2 separate regions of the Homo sapiens genome follow, and region 2 is linked to region 1. Evidence: promoter capture Hi-C in human tissues and cell types (Jung and others, 2019). All regions are on one chromosome and are shown on one strand. Each heading gives the region's core, a stretch centred on a gene start or on the middle of the fragment in contact. The rest is flanking DNA. Distances are from core to core; before and after follow the strand shown. Region 1 holds the start of DPPA4 (developmental pluripotency associated 4). Region 2 has its middle 230 kb from the start of CD96.

Region 1 (4,418 bases), core at 1,051-3,550:
GGGTTCAAGTGATCTTTTGCCTCAGCCTCCTGAGCAGGTGGGACTACAGGATAATTTTTTGTAGAGGTGAGGTCTCCCTATGTCTCCCCCCACTGATCTCAATCTTCTAGCCTCAAGCAATCTTCCCGCCTTGGCTCCCCAAAGAGTTGGGATTAAAGGCGCGAGCCACTGCGCCCAAGGGTTCCCTATTTTCTTTTTCTCTGAGAGGAGTCTCGCTCTGTCACCCCGGCTGTAGTGCAGTGGTCCAATCTCGGCTCACTGCAACTTCCATCTCCCCGGTTTAAGCAATTCTCTGCCTCAGCCTCCCCACTAGCTGGAATTACAGGCGCCTGCCACCACACCCGGCTGAATTTTTCTATTTTTAGTAGAGATGGGGGTTTCACCATGTTGGCCAGGCTGGTCTCAAACTCCTGGCCTCAAGTGATCCGCCCACCTCAGCCTCCCAAAGTGCTGGGATTACAGGCGTGTGCCACTGTGCCTGGCCTTGGCCTTCCTTTTTTCATTCATTTAATTCTCATAGCAATCTGGCAACAATTACTTCTCAGACACAGAAGCTGAGAATCAGAGGTAACATAAAGACACAGATTAGGGGTACATTAGATATAAATTAAAATTTAAATATAAAGGCTAGGCTCCGTGGCTCACGCCTGTAATCCCGGCACTTTGGGAGGCCGAGGTGGGCTGACCGATTGAGGTCAGGAGTTCGAGACCAGCCTGGCTAACATATCGAAACTCAGTCACTACCAAAAATACAAAAACTACCTGGGCGTGGTGGTGCGTGCCTGCAATCCCAGCTAATCGAGAGGCTGAGTCAGGAGAATCGCTTGAACCCGGGAAGCAGAGGCTGCAGTGAGCCGAGATCGGCTACTGCACACCACTCTGGGCGACAGAGTCAAACTCATTAAAAAAAAAAAATTAATATAATAAAATTTCTCCTAAATCTAAATCCTTTTCTTCACTTTCAGGGTGGATTACTGGACAAATTAACATTTGTATGGCATTTTTACATCTCTATAGCAGTTCTACATTTTGATTTGAAATTTATATTTGCATAAACCTTACAAAAAGTACTCACTTTGGACCTCACAAAAGACTTAAAACCGAGACAGTTAAAAATGACCCAGTTCAAGTCAAGAGGACCTGAGAGCGCTCGGATATGGCCGTTCAGTGCCTGTGCAACGTCTTAAATCCTCTCTTCCTTCAGTTTCTGTCTGCATTGTTCCCAATGTCTGGCTTCTGATTACTCCTAGGTCCTAAGGACGCTGGGAAAAGGGGACGAATTCATTCTCAGCACCCTCGGTTTAGGATCTGTGTCCGTCTAAAGGAAATTAAGGGGTTTCATTCTTTTCCAAACTCAGCTCAATTACCTCTTCCTAAAATCTTTCCTTTAACACCCTTTTCTCCTGTTACCATTTCCCTCTAGCCCCCATATTCAGTTAGTTCTTTCTGACAGGACTAAGCACCTCTTCAAAACAGAAAACCCGGGCCGGGAGCAGCGGCGGGCGCCTGCAGTCCCAGTAGCACTTTGGTAAGCCGAGGTGGGAGGATCGTTTGAGCCTGGGCGGTTACAGTGAATAGTGATGGTGCCACTGCACTCCAGCCAGGGAGACAAAAGTGAAACCCTGTTCCAAAACACAAACCTGAAAACCTAATTTTTTAACTTTTTCTTTTGAGGTGGAGTTTCGCTCTGGTTGCCCAAGCTGGGGGTGCAATGGGGCGATCTCGGCTCACCGCAACCCCCGACTCCCGGGTTCAAGCGATTCTCCTGCCTCAGCCTCCCGAGTAGCTGGGATTACAGGTGTGCGCCACCACACCTGGCTAATTTTGTACTTTTAGTAGAGACGGGGTTTCTCCATTTTGGTCAGGCTGGTCTCGAACTCCCGACCTCAGGTGATCCGCCCGCCTCGGCTGCCCAAAGTGCTGGGATTACAGGCGTGAGCCACCGCGCCCGGCCTCTTTTTTTTTTTTCCCCATCTTTTGACACACTCAACCTCCTCAACTAAACCTAGAAAACCTCATTTCTTACTTGTCTGCTCACTCCAATATACCAGGCTGCAATCATATTCTTGGGCCTTACTCTTAAAATAAAAAAAAAAAAAGTCAAGAGGAGAAAATTCGAAGGCACATTCTTTTCTCCTTAAAGGAAAAATCAGGAGTGCCCAGGGAAGACAGAAACACAAAGACAGACAGAAAACAAATCCACTAAAACTGTACTGACCTCCTTGCCTTTTGCCTTCTCCATACTTGTAGAAGAAGCGGAGCCTCGCAACATGCTTCCAAAATGGCCCCTGCCCCAAGATTGCTATTTGCAAAGTCTCCTCCCACTTCCTGCCGCCCGAAGACCCTTTTTCTCTCCACCTCACCTCTTCTTTTCTTCTCCCCTTCTGTTCCCTCCCCCACAATTTGTAAATGCTAAAATTGCATTCTTTCTTATTCATGGGGTGACTTTTGTCTGGGTTGAATTACTAATACTATTCCTGGCCCTTTTCTGTTCACTTTAAATGTAATTATCCAAAGTATGGTTCCGGAGACATTGGGAGATTGAGCACTCCTTCAGAACGATTCTACGGGGAAAAAAAACAAAAAACAAAAAACAAAAAAACAGTGGCCAGAGACTTGAGCAGGATGTGTGAAGGGATTTAATAATGGAACTTGTGGCAACAGTAGACTTCAGAGACCAGACTGGCGGCTTGAAGAAAGCTATTTTCTCGTACCAAATACATTCCATTTCCTAAGTAAGTTACTCAACCAACTAAAACTCCAGGTTTCTCTGTACTAATACCGAGCATCTTTTCATCTGCCAACGAACTAATAATAGTAGCTTTTAAAGTCTATAGAGTATTTGTTATTTATTTTGTAGAGGGCAAGTGGGGGGGTCTGGCTATTTTGACCTGGCTGGTCTCGAACTCCTGCCCTCAAGTAATTCTCCAGCCTTGTCCTCCCAAAGTGTTGGGATTACAGGCGTGAGCCACCACTCCCCGCCCGAGTATTTTTTTATATCTCAAATTGTGAGTTTTAAATTCAGTCATTATTGTTCCCCATTTTATATATGACTAAAGTTGGTATAAATTTTTATTGGTAACTTTTTCAATAGCACAGTAAGTGAACCCCTAACCTACTGACTCCCAAAGAAGTTCAAGTTTTTCTCCTTAAAATAATTTGAAAAATCTTTCCTCAGATCAGTGCTCCCTGTCAGATTGTCAAGAGATGTGAAGTGAAGGAAGCAGTGGCTGTGCGACTGAAACCCTCCCTTGTCAGGGTCCAAAGTCTCTTTTGTTCTTTGGTTTACTTTGTTGTTTTTTTTTCCTACATCTCATTGCTTGTCCTAAAATGATAAATAAGAGACTGTCTTTATCCAAATGGTGTTAGTAATCTGCTCACAGGCTAGAAATCCACGGACAGAAAAAGTAAGTAAACGGAGCCCAGGAATAGAGAAGGAAGTGCAGGTTGTGGACTGGGCAACCCCCAAGGCGGCAAAGAGGAAACCAGGTGAGTTGAGGTCATCTGGGAGATATTAGGGCTTTGATTTAACAATTCTTTACCACAGCCTTTGGTAACCACCAGTAGGACTTTCTAATTAAGGTTTGTGTATAAAGTGTATAACTGAATCATCTTTCTTTTGTCAGTGTAATTGAACGTAACATTCAGAATAACTGGAGTTCTGGGCTGGGCATGGTGGCTCACGCCTGTAATCTCAGCACTTTGGGGGGCTGAGGTGGGCAGGTCACTTGAGTTCAGGAGTTTTGAGACCAGCCTGGCCAACAATGGCAGAACCCCTTCTCTACTAAAAATGCAAAAATTAGCCGGGCATGGTGCGTGCCTGTAATCCCAGCTACCAAGGAGGTTGAGGCAGGAGAATTGCTTGAGCTGGAGAGGCAGAGGTTGCAGTGAGTCAAGATCGTGCCATTGCACTCCAGCCTGGGTGACAGTGTGAGACTCCATCTCAAAATAAAACATAAAATAAAAATAAAACATAAAAACACAGACACCAAATCCAGGCCAGATTGATTCATTTTTAAATGTAAGGCTTTAGCAGCTAGCCAGACAGGATTTAAACCCAACCTCCCCTTCACTAGCTGTGTGACCTGGGCAATAACGTTAGGTCTCTTTGTTTTCTCATCCATGAAATGAGAGTCATGAAAATAATAGCCTTTACTTAGAGGGTTGTGGGCATGTCTGGAGAAAACAGTGTCTGGAGAAAACAGTGGCTGGCACAGCACATGTTGGGATCAGAAGAGCAGGGCGTGGTGGCTCATGCCAGTAATCCCAGCACTTTGGGAGGCAGGAGAATCGCTTGAGCTCATGAGTTCAAGACCAGCCTGGGCAATATAGTGAAACCCCATTTCTACCAAAAATACAAAAAATTACCAGGCGTGGTGGCGCAGGGGTGCCAGCTACTCGAGAGGCTGAGGTGGGAG
Region 2 (4,418 bases), core at 844-3,343, 2.0 Mb after region 1:
TTAACAAAGTACCTTCCTGTGCTAACAATAATTGAGAAACACTGACACCGATTCCATTTATAAACAAGGTGACTTCACCTCTGTCCAGTTAAGGTTTTTCTCCCACTTTCCTTTAAAAAACATAGGATATGTTTCTTCCAAAAGAGTAACATGTACCTCTCCAGGAGTTGACAGAACACACTACTGGTCTTTGATTCACTTTTAGGAGGCATTGGTAAACACTATAAATTAAGTACTCATCTACAAAATGCACAAACAAATTCAACAATCACCATGTGTTACAATCACTTTTAAAAAACTTGAGTAAGAACTTACGTAAGGCAGAGGCTGAAGAATACTTTAAATTATTTGAAAATATTAACAGAAACACTTATAAATTGAAAAGCATTCTAGGGGCAGGATGGATGTAAAGCATGAGAGAGAAAGAGAGAGAGAGCAGAGGGAAGTTTTCTATCATCCATTCTAAAGTTTGAACTATCAAGTTAATCGAATCTGTTACATCCACTAAGCTTTGCCTTTGCTTCTACTGAGTTTTATACTAAGAAAAAATGTTTAGCTGGAAGAAGATTTTGGATTAGCAAAGGATAAGAAAACCAAAATAGAAAATAAAATAGGCTGGGCATGGTGGCTCACACCTGTAATCCTAGCACTTTGGGAAGCCAAGGCGGGAGGATCACAAGGTCAAGAGATCGAGACCATCCTGGCTAACACGGTGAAACCCTGTCTCTACTAGAAATACAAAAAAAAAAAAAAAAATTAGCCAGGCGTGGTGGCGGGCACCTGTAGTCCCAGCTACTAGGGAGGCTGAGGCAGGAGAAAGGCGTGAAACCAGGAGGCAGAGCTTGCAGCCTGGGCGACAGAGCAAGATTCCATCTCAAAAAAGCAAAACAAAACAAAACAAAAACAAAAACAAAAACAACCCAAAAGGTTAGGAGTTAATAAGCCTTCTCTTGATGTTGACAATGTTACCACAATAAGACACCACTACTGATAGAATAAAAACAGCAAGACAGGGGGGGATGCATTTCTCCTAAACAGGCTGACACATGGAAACCTATCAATTACATGTGTAGGATCCATGACATTGATCAGGTAGAGTCTGTCTCTCTGAATGCTCAAACTTTCACTTTGAGGATGAATCCTTTTCTGCTGTGGGTACACCACACTCCAGGTGGTACACTCCACTGTGAGATTTGCCAAAGGGTGACCAGTTATAATAACTTTAAAGTTTCAATGCTTAATTTTGAGTAAATGGTTTACACTTTGATTCCTGAATCACTGTTCTCAGTTCACTCAAAAGGAGGCACGCAAATCATTACCGCTACTCCTGAGTATGTGTTTTTTAAGTGGGACAGGGTGGGCACTTCAGCAAGTGTCATAGAGGAGAAAACAAATACCTCAGTTAATTGCTTCTGTTTGACTTTCTCTTCAATCCACACATCAGACAAGACCAGACAAACAACTACGCTTGCTTTTTATATATAGTCCTGCCAATGAGGAGCTGTGTAGATAATGTGTTAAATGGAGAAAATAGAAAAAGAATAAGATAAAAACCTAGTGGATCAGAGGAATCCATGTAGAAGACACAGGACTGGATTCCATGGTGTAAGACCTTTGTGCATTTACAGCTCCTGGGAGGAATGCTCTCTCTCCTTCCTAGGCCAAATGACTGTGGGAAGCACTGTAGGACAGACAGTGGGAAGGTGGACTCTGGAGCCAGATTCCTGTATTTCACTTCCTTTACTGATGATGTGATGGTGTGCCTTTGGGCAATCCCAATCACCCTTTACCCTACATCCAACATCAGTAGAATTTGGATAATAGTTGTGCCAACATTATAAGGTTGTTATGAGATTAAATATTATATATATGTGTGTGTACATACACACCCACACACATAAAGCACTTAGCACACTTAGCACATAGTAAGAGCTCAATAACCATTACTTCTTATTATAGAAAAAAGAAAGGAGACCAACTCTTATTGAATACCTACTATACGCCAGGAATTGCACTAAGGACTTTCACATCTCCTCATTTCCTCCCACAAAAACTCTATAAGGTAACTAGTTAGAATACTTAAATGGCCTACCCAAAAAACAAGCAGCTAATCTGTGGAAGAGCCTAGGTTTAAAATCAGACCTTTATTTCATGATAGGATACTTCATGTCCTGTGATTCAGGGTTTGATACACAGGAAGAAAATGAATAATACATAATTATTTTAGAAGTCAATCTCTCTGGGAGCTAATGAGCTGCCAGGGTTCTTCTTCTATTTGAGATGATCTAAGTATAGGTGGTTGGAACTCTGCCCACCTATATTAGTAAGGGAAGGCTTGCTGCTGGAAGAAATAACTCCCAGATTTCAGTGGCTTTGCACAATATTTTATTGTGCTCACATTGAGTCCAATCAGTGTTAGAGGAAGGGTAGGGATGGAGCTTCTGCATTTAGGCACTGAGGCTTCCTCCTCCTTGCCAGTCCTGGAGTCCTCTATTGATTTCCCAGGCTGCAGCTGGAAAATGAGGGAAAAGAGTGAGTATGGCACATTTGGACTACTTATGGGCTAGGCTTGGAGGTGGACATAATTCTGCCCATATGTCTAATTGCCGGAACTTGGCTACCTACAAAGGAGAATGAAACAATAGTTTAAATGAATGCACTGGAAGAAAATAGCTTGTATGACTAGATAATTCATGCCACAGTTTATTCTCCTGGTCACTAAATATGAATTTTACTCTTTCTCCCATGTATAAGATCCATCCTTCTTCTCCTGAAGGCAGATGACTCTAAGTCTCAGCCAGTTCCTACATCCCACTCAAAGTCCAGCATTTATGGGAAATGTATGTCCTTACCAGGCTTAGATGTGGAGACTCTGCTGACTTATGAAGTGAAATAATAAGTTATCAGTTTCCCACTCTTCACTCCTCCACTCCACCCTCCTCCCCCAACAATGCTCAAGCAATATGGGAAAGGGCAGAATAAGAGACACAGAGCTACCACAGGTCTGCTGTATATTTCTGAAATCCTCCTGGCCAGGTATTTTAAAGGGCCCTCTCTGAGTGGAGAAGTTACTTGATCAGCCCTAGAATCTGTGTTCAGGAAGAAACTCCCCTCTCTCTCATTCTCTGTGACTCCTGCTCTACCCACTGGGAAGTTTATCCTTCTCTGTTTTCCTCCATGGCCATATCTGAAGGGGGCACAGGGAGTGCAATCTTCTTGGGAGCTCTACAGCTTTCACAGCCTGCTTCCTGCTCATACAAGTTTGGGGACCCAAGAATTGTTTTAAGCCATAAACAAACAGAGATGCCTTGTTAGAGCAAAAATATTATTAATTCAGCAATATAACTTCCTGAAAGACTGAATAGGCTTCTGATCTATTTGCCTTATCTAATCAGTACCATGCAAGAGCAAACATGCTCAAGTTCTTTCCTAGACATAATTCTCAAGCCTGATTTCATTTTCTTTTTCATCTCTATGCAACCCTCTCTCAACTTCCTGGCAGCTAACTTGAGGCTCACTGAAACAATAGGTTTGAATGCCAAGGTGATCCCCTTATTCTGCTCTTTGCTGCAACACCACTCTGGTGTGTTTAAGCAAGAGTTTTGGTGGGTCTTTGCAGTTTGGGACCTTTTCCAGTCTTATCTCTTAGAATTTGGAGTCCAGAAGCAGCTGGATTTCCAAACTTGTAAGACTTTTTATTTTTAGACTTTATTCCTTTTAATCTATTCATGAAAAACACTTATTTCTTGTCTGAGCTCCTGTACTGAAGGCATTTAATTGTAAGCCACAACACGCTTTCACTCTACTTCTTTCCAACCACTTTTCTTACAGCTTTAGGCTCAGAGGCATGTGCTCCTTTCCTTCAGTTATTGCAGACGACACTTACATGAAATACTGGGCCAGAGAATAGCAAGACTCTCTAACTGTAGCTCGCTCTTTTTATTTCATCACTGTCTGCTATCTGACCACTGAAACAATAGCACACATCTTGGGCTTTCACTAAGTCAGCATTCCACTTCCTGTCTTGATTCCTGTATTAGAGACAGTTAACTACTGGAACTGATAACCCCAAAATATCTGTGGTTACACACTAGAAGTTTGTTTCTTCTTCATGTAAAGTACAATTGGCAGCAGGGGTATAGTAGGGCTCCTGTGTACACAGGCACTCAGAAACCCAGTTTCCTCTTTTCTTGTGACTCTATCATTGCCTAGGCCTCTGGTTCAGTGATGGGTTGATTTTCTGTATCAGGTCTCAGACTGCCTAGACATGAATCACATCATCCACATTCTATTGGCCAGAAAGCATCAACAGCCACATTTAATTGCAACACAAGATGGAAAACATAGTCTAACTGTTTGCCTGGGAATAAAAAAATAAGTTCGCTAAAGAGCAAGGCTGTCTCCACCACACTATCTCT

The links. Contacts are between HindIII fragments. The study calls those that stand out against the background at their distance.
Region 2: a contact is called between a fragment that was not itself captured here and the fragment with the promoter of DPPA4 in region 1, in 1 of the 25 tissues and cell types used here (dorsolateral prefrontal cortex).

What each region holds. Positions count from the first base shown.
Region 1 is chr3:109,335,246-109,339,663 of GRCh38, forward strand. It overlaps DPPA4 (developmental pluripotency associated 4), which reads right to left and starts at 2,301. Exons shown (of 7, transcript NM_018189.4): 1 at 2,219-2,301. The coding sequence starts at 2,272. RefSeq lists enhancers at 581-1,189, 1,190-1,798, 1,799-2,406, 3,625-4,232. The HindIII fragment of the contact is 13,883 bases long and covers 1-4,418 here.
Region 2 is chr3:111,307,869-111,312,286 of GRCh38, forward strand. No RefSeq gene overlaps it. Among named protein-coding and RNA genes, the nearest start is that of CD96, 230 kb to the right of the region's middle. The HindIII fragment of the contact is 4,087 bases long and covers 51-4,137 here.